3 separate regions of the Homo sapiens genome follow, and all the other regions are linked to region 3. Evidence: promoter capture Hi-C in 16 types of primary human blood cells and fetal thymus (Javierre and others, 2016). All regions are on one chromosome and are shown on one strand. The core of a region is centred on a gene start or on the middle of the fragment in contact, and the rest is flanking DNA. Distances in the headings are between cores, read along the strand shown.

Region 1 (2,927 bases), core at 261-2,760, 250 kb before region 3:
ATCCATGTTGGTCAGGCTGGTCTTGAACTCCCAACCTCAGGTAATCTGCCCGCCTCGGACTCCCAAAGTGCTTGGATTACAGGCCACCACATCCGGCCTCCCAAATCCTTCTAAAACAAGAGTGAAGAAACTTTTAAAAAGAAAGGAGAAACAGCAACGAAGTTTTTCAGCCCTGAAGCAGGTGGATAGATGTGGTGAGCTGAATCTGAAATTGGTACTGGGGAAAACTGAGAAGAAACCCAATTTGCACCCCCACACCTGCTTGGGGCTCAAGAGTTAATAGTACCAGAGACTCTAGGGATCCCTGGAAATAGGAATGAAGTGAGGCTAAACACAGACAGCTGGCTGAACATCTTTTAAAGAGACCGCTTAAAGCTCCCCTCAGCTCCCATTGCCTCCCTCAGTCCCTACTGCAGGCATCTGCCTTTCCCTAGCCCTGATATGTGACAGGCTTATTCTCTGGGGAGGGTGCAAAGGAGGCTCTCTGGACATGGGCACCAGGCACAGTTGAGGGTGGGGCACCATATTGAAAACGGGAAGAAGGAGACTTGACGTGCAGATGTTGAGACCTCCAGCCTTCTTCCCTAACTCGACTCCCGAAATGTTGCCAACACCCAGAATTAAACCCACTGGGCAGGATATTTGAAGAGGCTTATCTGGAGACTTTTGGGACCAGCCCAAGAGGTTTCTGGGTAAAATGACTTGGCCAAAGCACCCTATGGGCCAAACAGAGTCCCATAGTTAGCAGGCCTCACCCAAATGCACTGAGCTCCCTGTTCTCTTGAGTGTCCCCTTTTAAGTCTCCGGGGACAACCAAGAATGAGAAGACATTTGGGAAAACTCTGTGGTGTACAGAGACAAGTAAAGAAATCAGAAAAAATACATTTAGAGGAACAGAGACCATGCAGAGAGGGAAAAATGTATATATGAATACTCACATGTAAAATCCTTAAATCAAATAAGTGAATGCATTCATGACACAAAAGTGTAATGCTTGTTTTTTAAAAAAGGAATAGAAAGGAACTCTTGGAAATAAAAAATGTAATAGTACAAATTAGAGACTCAGGAGCAGTGTTGGAGGATAAGCACACATCCCAGAAAATAAAGCTAAAAGAAAAGAAAATAGGGAAAAAAATAAAAATAAAGGATGGAAGGGAATAGGGAAAGAATAAGAAAACTGAAGGATGGAAGTCCAACATCCAGATAATAGGAATATCCAGAAAAAGAGTAGCAGAAACAGGTGGGAATTATCAACAAAATAATTCAAGAAAAGGTCCCGCCAATTAAAGCCGTAATTTTCTAGATTGAAAGAGCCAGCTGCCCAGAGCACTGGAAGAAAATAGACCTACACTTTCAGCACGGAATTTCAGAGCAACTGAGAACAAAGGAAATCCTACGAGCTTCCAGGGAAGAGAAACAGAGTCATGCGAAGAAATGAGAATTAGAATGGCCTCAGACATTTGTAACCACATTGGGAGCTAGAAGACAGTAGAGTAGTGCCTTTCAAATTCCAAAGGAAAATATTTTCCAACTTATAATTCAATGTCTAGCCAGACTATTTCGATTAAATATGAGTGAAACTGAGTCATTTTGAGATATTCAAGTCTCCACAAATCCTTTATCAAACTGGGGCAGGCGCTTTGCCAAAATGAGGAAGTAAACCAAGAAGGAGGCATTACAAACCCCAACTTGAGAGAGAGGTGGAGGCACTCCAGGCACACGGCCCAGGGGCATTCCGAGAGGTCAGCTGTGCACCTAGAGGCAGCCAGTCGAGTGGGGCACCTCCGCAGGTCCCAGAAATTTGTCTTCAAGTAGATGAAATGGATAAATACCCAATATATTTGAATGTTTGGAAAGGAGAGTTACACAGCAAGGTAAGGTTGGGGGAGTTTGGGGCTAAGTTCATGATAATTAGTCGTAAGCTGGGCAAAAGAAATAAGTGTCAGATCTAGGGAAAGCAAGAAGGTTTACAGGCGTAGGAGGCACTCACTGAATACTACAGAGTTTAGTTATAAATAACATTGATATAATCTAGCGAGGTAAACACCCAGTATTGATCCAACTAAAATTACAACAAAACTGTATTGGCAGGATCAGTTCGGAGGAGATGGTTCTGACCGTCATCCCTTGGAAGTCAATGGATGATGCTTAAAATTGAAAACTCAAGGAGTAGCAATATAAGTGTGTTACTTAGAGTTATGGAGGTAAATGACCAAAGAGTCAGCTGGAATCATTGAAGTGATTGCTTCGGGGAGCAGGAAATGGGGGCAGAGGAGTGGAAAAGAACTTTTTAAAAAATAAGTTTTGGGCCGGGTGTGGTGGCTCGCGCCTCTAATCCCAACAGTTTGGGAGGCCGAGGCAGGTGGATCACTTGAGGTCAGGAGTTTGAGATTAGCCTGGGCAACATGGTAAAACCCCATCTCTACTAAAAGTACACAAAATATGTATATATAGCTGGGTGTGGTGGCCCATGCCTGTAATCCCGGCTACTCAGGAGGCTAAGGCAGGAGAATCACTTGAATCCAAGGGGTGGAAGATGCAGCCCCGTCTCAAAAAAAAGAAGTTTTGAAGAACTGTTCAACTATGTTCCACTAGCCTATGTGCATGTATAACTTTAAAAAAAATTTTTTTTAATTAAAAAAACCTAACAGTATAGCCATGCGAAGATTGGAAAGTCAGTGTCAACCAATATTTATTTACTTTGAGCTGGTAGAGAGAGTTAATGTGGCAATACTGGTTTTTAATTTCACAAAGAAAAAGTACAGAGAGAGTGAAAGTCCCCCATAGTTTTCTCTCAAGAGTCAGCAGTTTATTCATTCCAATTTTATGTGCATGTGATTACATACACATGGCCTTAATTATATAAGTAATACATATACACATTATCATTGTAAAAAAATCAGACAATATAGAAGTATTGGCAAGTT
Region 2 (2,999 bases), core at 309-2,808, 230 kb before region 3:
GACTTCTTGCCACCATCTTGAATCTCACTTTCCATTTGCCCTAATCTCTGCTATTGGTTCCTAAAGTGTAGATAGCCTTTGGTGTCAAAAAGACGTGGCTTTAAACTTCATAGTTGTATGGCCTTGAACAAGTTAATTAACAGAACATCAATTTCCTCATCTGTCAAATAGGGATAATAAAGTTCCCATTGTTCTGAGGCTTAAATCACAATAGATACATAGCAAAGACACTGGCAGATACTAAGGTCTCAATAAGAGATTACTAATTTCAAACAGAAGTTCAAGTTGGTAGTGGGCTAGTGTTATATCCTAAAAGAATGAATCTTTGAGAAGGAAATTTCAGTAGGCAAATGTAGATTATTTTGGTGTGAGAAAGTACAAATTAAACCACAACTATATCATGGTCCTTATCTAGGAGTGGACAGGGTTTCAGTTCACCCCTTGGCCACACTCCAGAGTTTGCAGGAGGTAGTACCCCACCTCGCTGAGTTTTCTGGTCCTCTTTCACAGTGCTTTTCTTGGGTGCCCTTAATTTAATTAGACTTGTGAACTCCTAAGTTGCCTGTTGCTGTTGGCCCCATAAAGCTGTGTAGCAGAAGGAATAACTACCATTTATTGAGAGCTTCTTACTTTGGAAGACTTTACATACATCCCTTCATAACTCTGATGTATGTTTCATTACACCCATTTTATAGGTGGAAAGCTCCAGGCTCAGGGAGGTTAAGTAGGCCCAAAGTCACACAGCAACCAAATAGTAGAGCCAGGATTTGAACTCAGTTCTTTGACTCCAAAGCCCATGTGCTTGGCCAAAAAGTTGTTTTCCTGGGGCCAGTATCGTTGTTGAAAAAAGAAAAGCCAGCACCTCTTTTAAATTATTCCATTTTGCCTCCGGATTTTTTGACTGAAGATAAAATTGGGGGAAACAAAATATATTAAACAGAACATGCTCTGTGCATTTGCCAAAATGATGAACACAGTAAGAGGATAAAAAAGAATGTTTGAGGCAGGAAAAAACCCTTAGCGCTGAGCCCTAGCATTTTATAGCTGAGAAATGAAGAGGAGAGGAGTTGGGTCCTCCAAGGTCACAGGTGGGACAGGCAGGGCTGGTGCCGAGGGGATGCTCACTGTCTTACAGCCCTGCACCCCCCCCCCAGTATTTATTAATCACCACTTGTGTGCAAAGAATTGTGCTGGGCTCTGTGGAGAAACACAAGAGGATTAGGAATCCCTGGCTGCCTAGACAGCACTTAGCATCTGGTGGAGACTGGCAGCCTGGTTAAGCCTCTGGGGATCTGGAAAGCTGGGACCATCAGAGAGGCCTTTAGGCGGCTGTCTCTGATAAAGGACCGCATCCCCAGCTTTTCTTCATTCCTCTTCAGTGGATGTAGCCTGAACCAGCCAGGTGTCTGTGGGAGACCTTTCCTGAAGCACTGTGGTGGCAGCTCCTCAGATTAAGGGATCAGGGACAGAGGCCCTCCAGGCCCTACTGTTGCCAGGGCAACATTGAGTCAGGCCAGGGCCTCTCCTCCAGCGCTCTGGAAAGCATTACTGCTGCTGAAGCCTCTTGTTGCTTCCCAGTCATACTGGCAACTTCTAGATGACAATTTGTAAAAAAAAAAAAAAAAAAAAATCAACTTTGCATCTACCATTTCTAGTTGGTTTCCTTGAAATGAGGAATTTTAGTTAAAATATAGACTTTAGCCCTTTTATTTCTGTTTTCTACAAAGGACAGCTCCAGGTTAAATGATTTCTCTAAAAAAAAGAAAGAAAAGGAAGGTGAAAGGAAGGAAAAAAGGGGAAAAGACCAGGATAGAAAGAAAGAAAAGAAAACATTAAACATAGTACTATTGATCGCAACCTTACATGAAAAGTTCTGTTCAGAAGTCAGAACTAGCCATAAGTTTATTAAGGATAATAACTAAAATCACTACAATTCATTGAGTTTTACCATGTTGCAGTCACTGTGCCAGATCATAAACGCTTTCCTTTCATTTTATCTTGCAACAACCTGTGAAATTGGTATCTGTGTCCCCTTGAACAGATGAAGTTCAGAGAGGTTCAGCCATCAGCAGCCAAGGTCACACGGCCAGAATTTAAACCTAAGTGGGTGGGAACCCCAGCTGTGTGCTATTAACCACTGTTACATACTGCCTCCCAATTTCAACATGGATCCTTAATAAAAAGGGCAAAACATGACTATTTCTCTTTGATTTGCAGCTCTCACTGTCTATGGGCACAGCATGTGAGTCTGGACCTGCCTGAAAGCACAGTTCCCTGGCTGCCTGGCCAGCCAAGCCCAGGCGACATTGGGAGACGTCCTGAGGTTCACCTGACCAGGGTAGAATAGGTGTTCCTGGGCACACTGGTGGTTAGAACACCAATCCAGCCCCCGTTTTAGACTGAGTCCTCTATACCTTAGGGACTTTGGGGAGAGCACTGTTATGGCAAGAGGCCACCTTTCTCTGTTTATTTCTGACGTTGGGACCTAAGAAGCCATTTGTTTATCAGTCAGAGGAGTAGTTGCATGAAGGAGATTATTATAAGGAAGAAATACCTGCTCCCTAATAACACAAAATACACCCTTGACTCTAATCCTGCCGGCTCAGTGCTACCTCTAAGTTCTCACCATTCCCTCCCCGCCACTACCGCATGAATGAAACTCACTGCTTCTCTTTGTAAAATAATATCTCAAAATAACTCAAGTATTATAAGACAGGAGCATCACTGCTGTCTATTAATTCAGGTAATGGAAAGTTGAATTTTAATGACAAAATGTATCAGTGAAAATGTCTATCCCTGCTGGTAATTTTATTTAAAGAATGATTATCAGGACAACAGACTGTTTCTTCTTAAAATCAGTATAGTCTAATAAGTATAAAATCTTTTTAAAAATTAAATGCAATCAGCTCTTCATTTACCTGATACACAAATAATCAAATTATGCCCTCAAAGGATTGAAATAGCTTGGATTTAAGCTAAACTCAATTAAGAAAAGTAAA
Region 3 (2,777 bases), core at 244-2,743:
CAGCCGACTCTCCTTCACACCTGGGACAGGAAGAGGTGTCATTTTCTGTCCTCCCGATGGCTGCAGAAAAGGCCCTCAGGCTAGGAAAAGGGGAGGCCTGCTGCTTGGGGCGATCTGGGCAGACCAGCCCCACTCTCTGACTCAAGAGCAGCCCTGCTCCGGGGCAGACCTGCTCCGGGACACAGCAGAGTGGAGAGCAGGGCCCTAGGATCGCCAGGCCCTGTAATACCAGTAAGAGGTGCTGGTGTTTCCATCAAAAGCACCCATTCCTCCATCACAGAGGCTCCACTCCGCCCTAGCCCACAGAAGGGGACAGAGTCCACAGTAGAAGTTAAGAAAGTCCCGGGGCCCAGTTTAGTTTTCTCGGGTTTGAAGCCCTAACCCTGAAAATGATCAAACACAACACAGCAGCCCCTGGCTCCCTCGTTAGCACCTGGCTGAGAGCCGCGTGGTGAGCAGAGGGGCCCCTGAGCAGCCCAGCCCCAGGGTGGGCCCAGAGAGTCTTCCCTGGGCAAGCTTTCAGGCCTCTCTGAGGATCCACCTCCCCTGGTTTTATACCCAATTCTGGAGCACCGGTTCTGCCCACGGAGATCATCGATGGAGCCTGAAGAAATGCCTGGTGCTACTCTCACCCGTCAGAGACCCTGAGCTCTGGGACCAGGCAAGGGCTCAGGAGTCTTAAAAGCTGCCCAGGCCATTCCAACATGCGGCCAAGTTTGTCAACCGCAGGAAAGACCCCGAAGTCATCTCTCCATGGCCCCCTCCCTGGATCACACCCGGTGCAGGGGGAGAGTGAATTACTCATTACACTTGGTGAAAGGTGGTAATCAAACATTTAAAAAATATCCCCGTCAAATTGGCCACCGTGTAAACACGAACGAGGCATTCACTTCTGCGGCCGGGCGGAAGCACTGCCCGCGAAGCTCTCCGCCGGCCGGGCGCAAAGGGAGCCCCAAGCCGGGGCTCAGCCACAGGGTCAGAGCTCTGCCAGGTCCCGGAAAGGACGGTCCCGGCCCCCGCCCCGCGGGGCCTCCGCACTTGGGCCCGGCGACCGCTGCTCCGCGCCGCGCGGGCCAGGCCTGCCCTTCCGGGCCTGCGTCGGGCCCGCTCCGTCCTGCCCGCCGCGCAGCCCGGCCGTGCCCCGCCCGCCTCGGGCCTCGCCTGGGCGCGGAAGCTGGGAGGGCGCCGCAAGGCTACCGGAGGACGGCGCGGCCCGGTCCCGCGGCCCAGCCCGCGCCCCGCCCCCACGGCAGCGCGGCCATGGCGCCGGCGGGGTTCTCCCACCTGCATGGGCGGCATTCCCTCGGCCATTTCCCCGCGCAGCGCCGGCTCCTGGTGGCAGACCTCCTCCGGGGGCAGAGCCTGGGCCCAGCTCCAGCTCCCGCTGTCCAGCCCCAGGCCCTGGATGCCCAGCTGCTGAGGCTGCGGCCGTGTTGACACAAACTGCATCCTGGGAGTGCTGTTCCCCGCTCGGGTCGGCCAGGGAGAAGAAGAACGTTTTCCAGGCGCCTTCCCCCTCTCCGGGGCCGGACAGCTCCATCTACAGCCCGTAGGAGCAAACAGTCCCCTTCGGCGGCGCTCCCCGCCCCTTGGCAGCCCGCGCGCCAGCCAATGGCCTCGGAGCTCCTGCCCGCCTGCGGGGACCTACCGGGGCCACTCCCGGACTGGGGTCGCCACCGCCCCAAAACTGAGAGGCGGCGGCCTCGCCCAGGGGTCAGGCCCCCTCAATCTGGGATGGCCGACTTTAAAGGCCCAAACTATGCGAGGACCTGGACTGTGGGCTTGATTACTGTTAATTCTGCAAATGTATTGGGCATCCCGGGAGAAAATAGTGCCTGACCCTTGTGAAAATTTTGCAGGAGTAATTCTGTCTTCAGACACTTTCTTCTGGCCTTCTGCCTTCCCTCACTCCTTTGCAGACTTTACCTCCCACTCCCCTTCTTCCCAATCCAGATTTACCTGGACCCATCCCAGAGCTTTTGCACTGTTATGGATGATAGAGAAGTGATTCATGTTAAGGTGTCAAAAGAGGGCTGAGCTCTTTCTCCCAGGTAAGGTGCAGTGCATTTTAACAGTGGCCTCTTCAAACACCTTGAAATTGGGTTGGGCGTGGTGCCTCACACCTGTAATCTCAGCACTCTGAGAGGCTGAAGCAGGAGAACGACTTGAGCCCAGGAGTTCGAGACCAGACTGAGCAACATATTGACACCCCATCCCTATAAAAAATAAAAATTAGCCGAGCGCGGTGGCTCACATCTGTAATCCCAGCACATTGGGAGGCTGAGGCAGGCGGATCACCTGAGGTCAGGAGTTCGAGACCAGCCTGGCCAACATGGTGAAACCCCGTCTCTACTAAAAATACAAAAAGATTAGCCGGGCGTGGTGGCGTGGGCCTATAATCCTAGCTACTCGGGAGGCTGAGGCAGGAGAATCGCTTCAACCTCCGAAGCGGAGGTTGCAGTGAGCCAAGATCGCGCCAGTGCGCTCCAGCCTGGGCAACAGAGCGAGACTCCATCTCAAAAAATAATAATAAGGCCGGGCGCCGTGGCTCACGCCTGTAATCCCAGCACTTTGGGAGGCCAAGACGGGCGGATCACGAGGTCAGGAGATCGAGACCATCCTGGCTAACACGGTGAAACCCCGTCTCTACTAAAAATACAAAAAAATTAGCCGGGTGTGGTGGCGGCGCCTGTAGTCCCAGCTACTCGGGAGGCTGAGGCAGGAGAATGGCGTGAACCCGGGAGGCGGAGCTTGCAGTGAGCCGAGATCGCGCCACT

The links. Contacts are between HindIII fragments. The CHiCAGO score rates a contact against its expected background, and 5 or more counts as called.
Region 1: a fragment that was not itself captured here is called in contact with the fragment with the promoter of ZNF282 in region 3 in 1 of 17 cell types (naive CD8 T cells); the score reaches 5.5 in naive CD8 T cells.
Region 2: a fragment that was not itself captured here is called in contact with the fragment with the promoter of ZNF282 in region 3 in 1 of 17 cell types (non-activated CD4 T cells); the score reaches 5.7 in non-activated CD4 T cells.

What each region holds. Positions count from the first base shown.
Region 1 is chr7:149,443,273-149,446,199 of GRCh38, reverse strand. The region is part of intron 4 of ZNF777 (zinc finger protein 777); the gene reads left to right. Among named protein-coding and RNA genes, the nearest start is that of ZNF777, 16 kb to the left of the region's middle. The HindIII fragment of the contact is 3,968 bases long and covers 1-2,927 here.
Region 2 is chr7:149,425,759-149,428,757 of GRCh38, reverse strand. No RefSeq gene overlaps it. Among named protein-coding and RNA genes, the nearest start is that of TRC-GCA11-1, 12 kb to the right of the region's middle. The HindIII fragment of the contact is 5,723 bases long and covers 1-2,999 here.
Region 3 is chr7:149,194,262-149,197,038 of GRCh38, reverse strand. ZNF282 (zinc finger protein 282) reads right to left here and starts at 1,493. Exons shown (of 8, transcript NM_003575.4): 1 at 1,285-1,493. The coding sequence starts at 1,449. RefSeq lists an enhancer at 426-475 and silencers at 916-1,275, 1,396-1,717, 1,536-1,825. The HindIII fragment of the contact is 5,667 bases long and covers 519-2,777 here.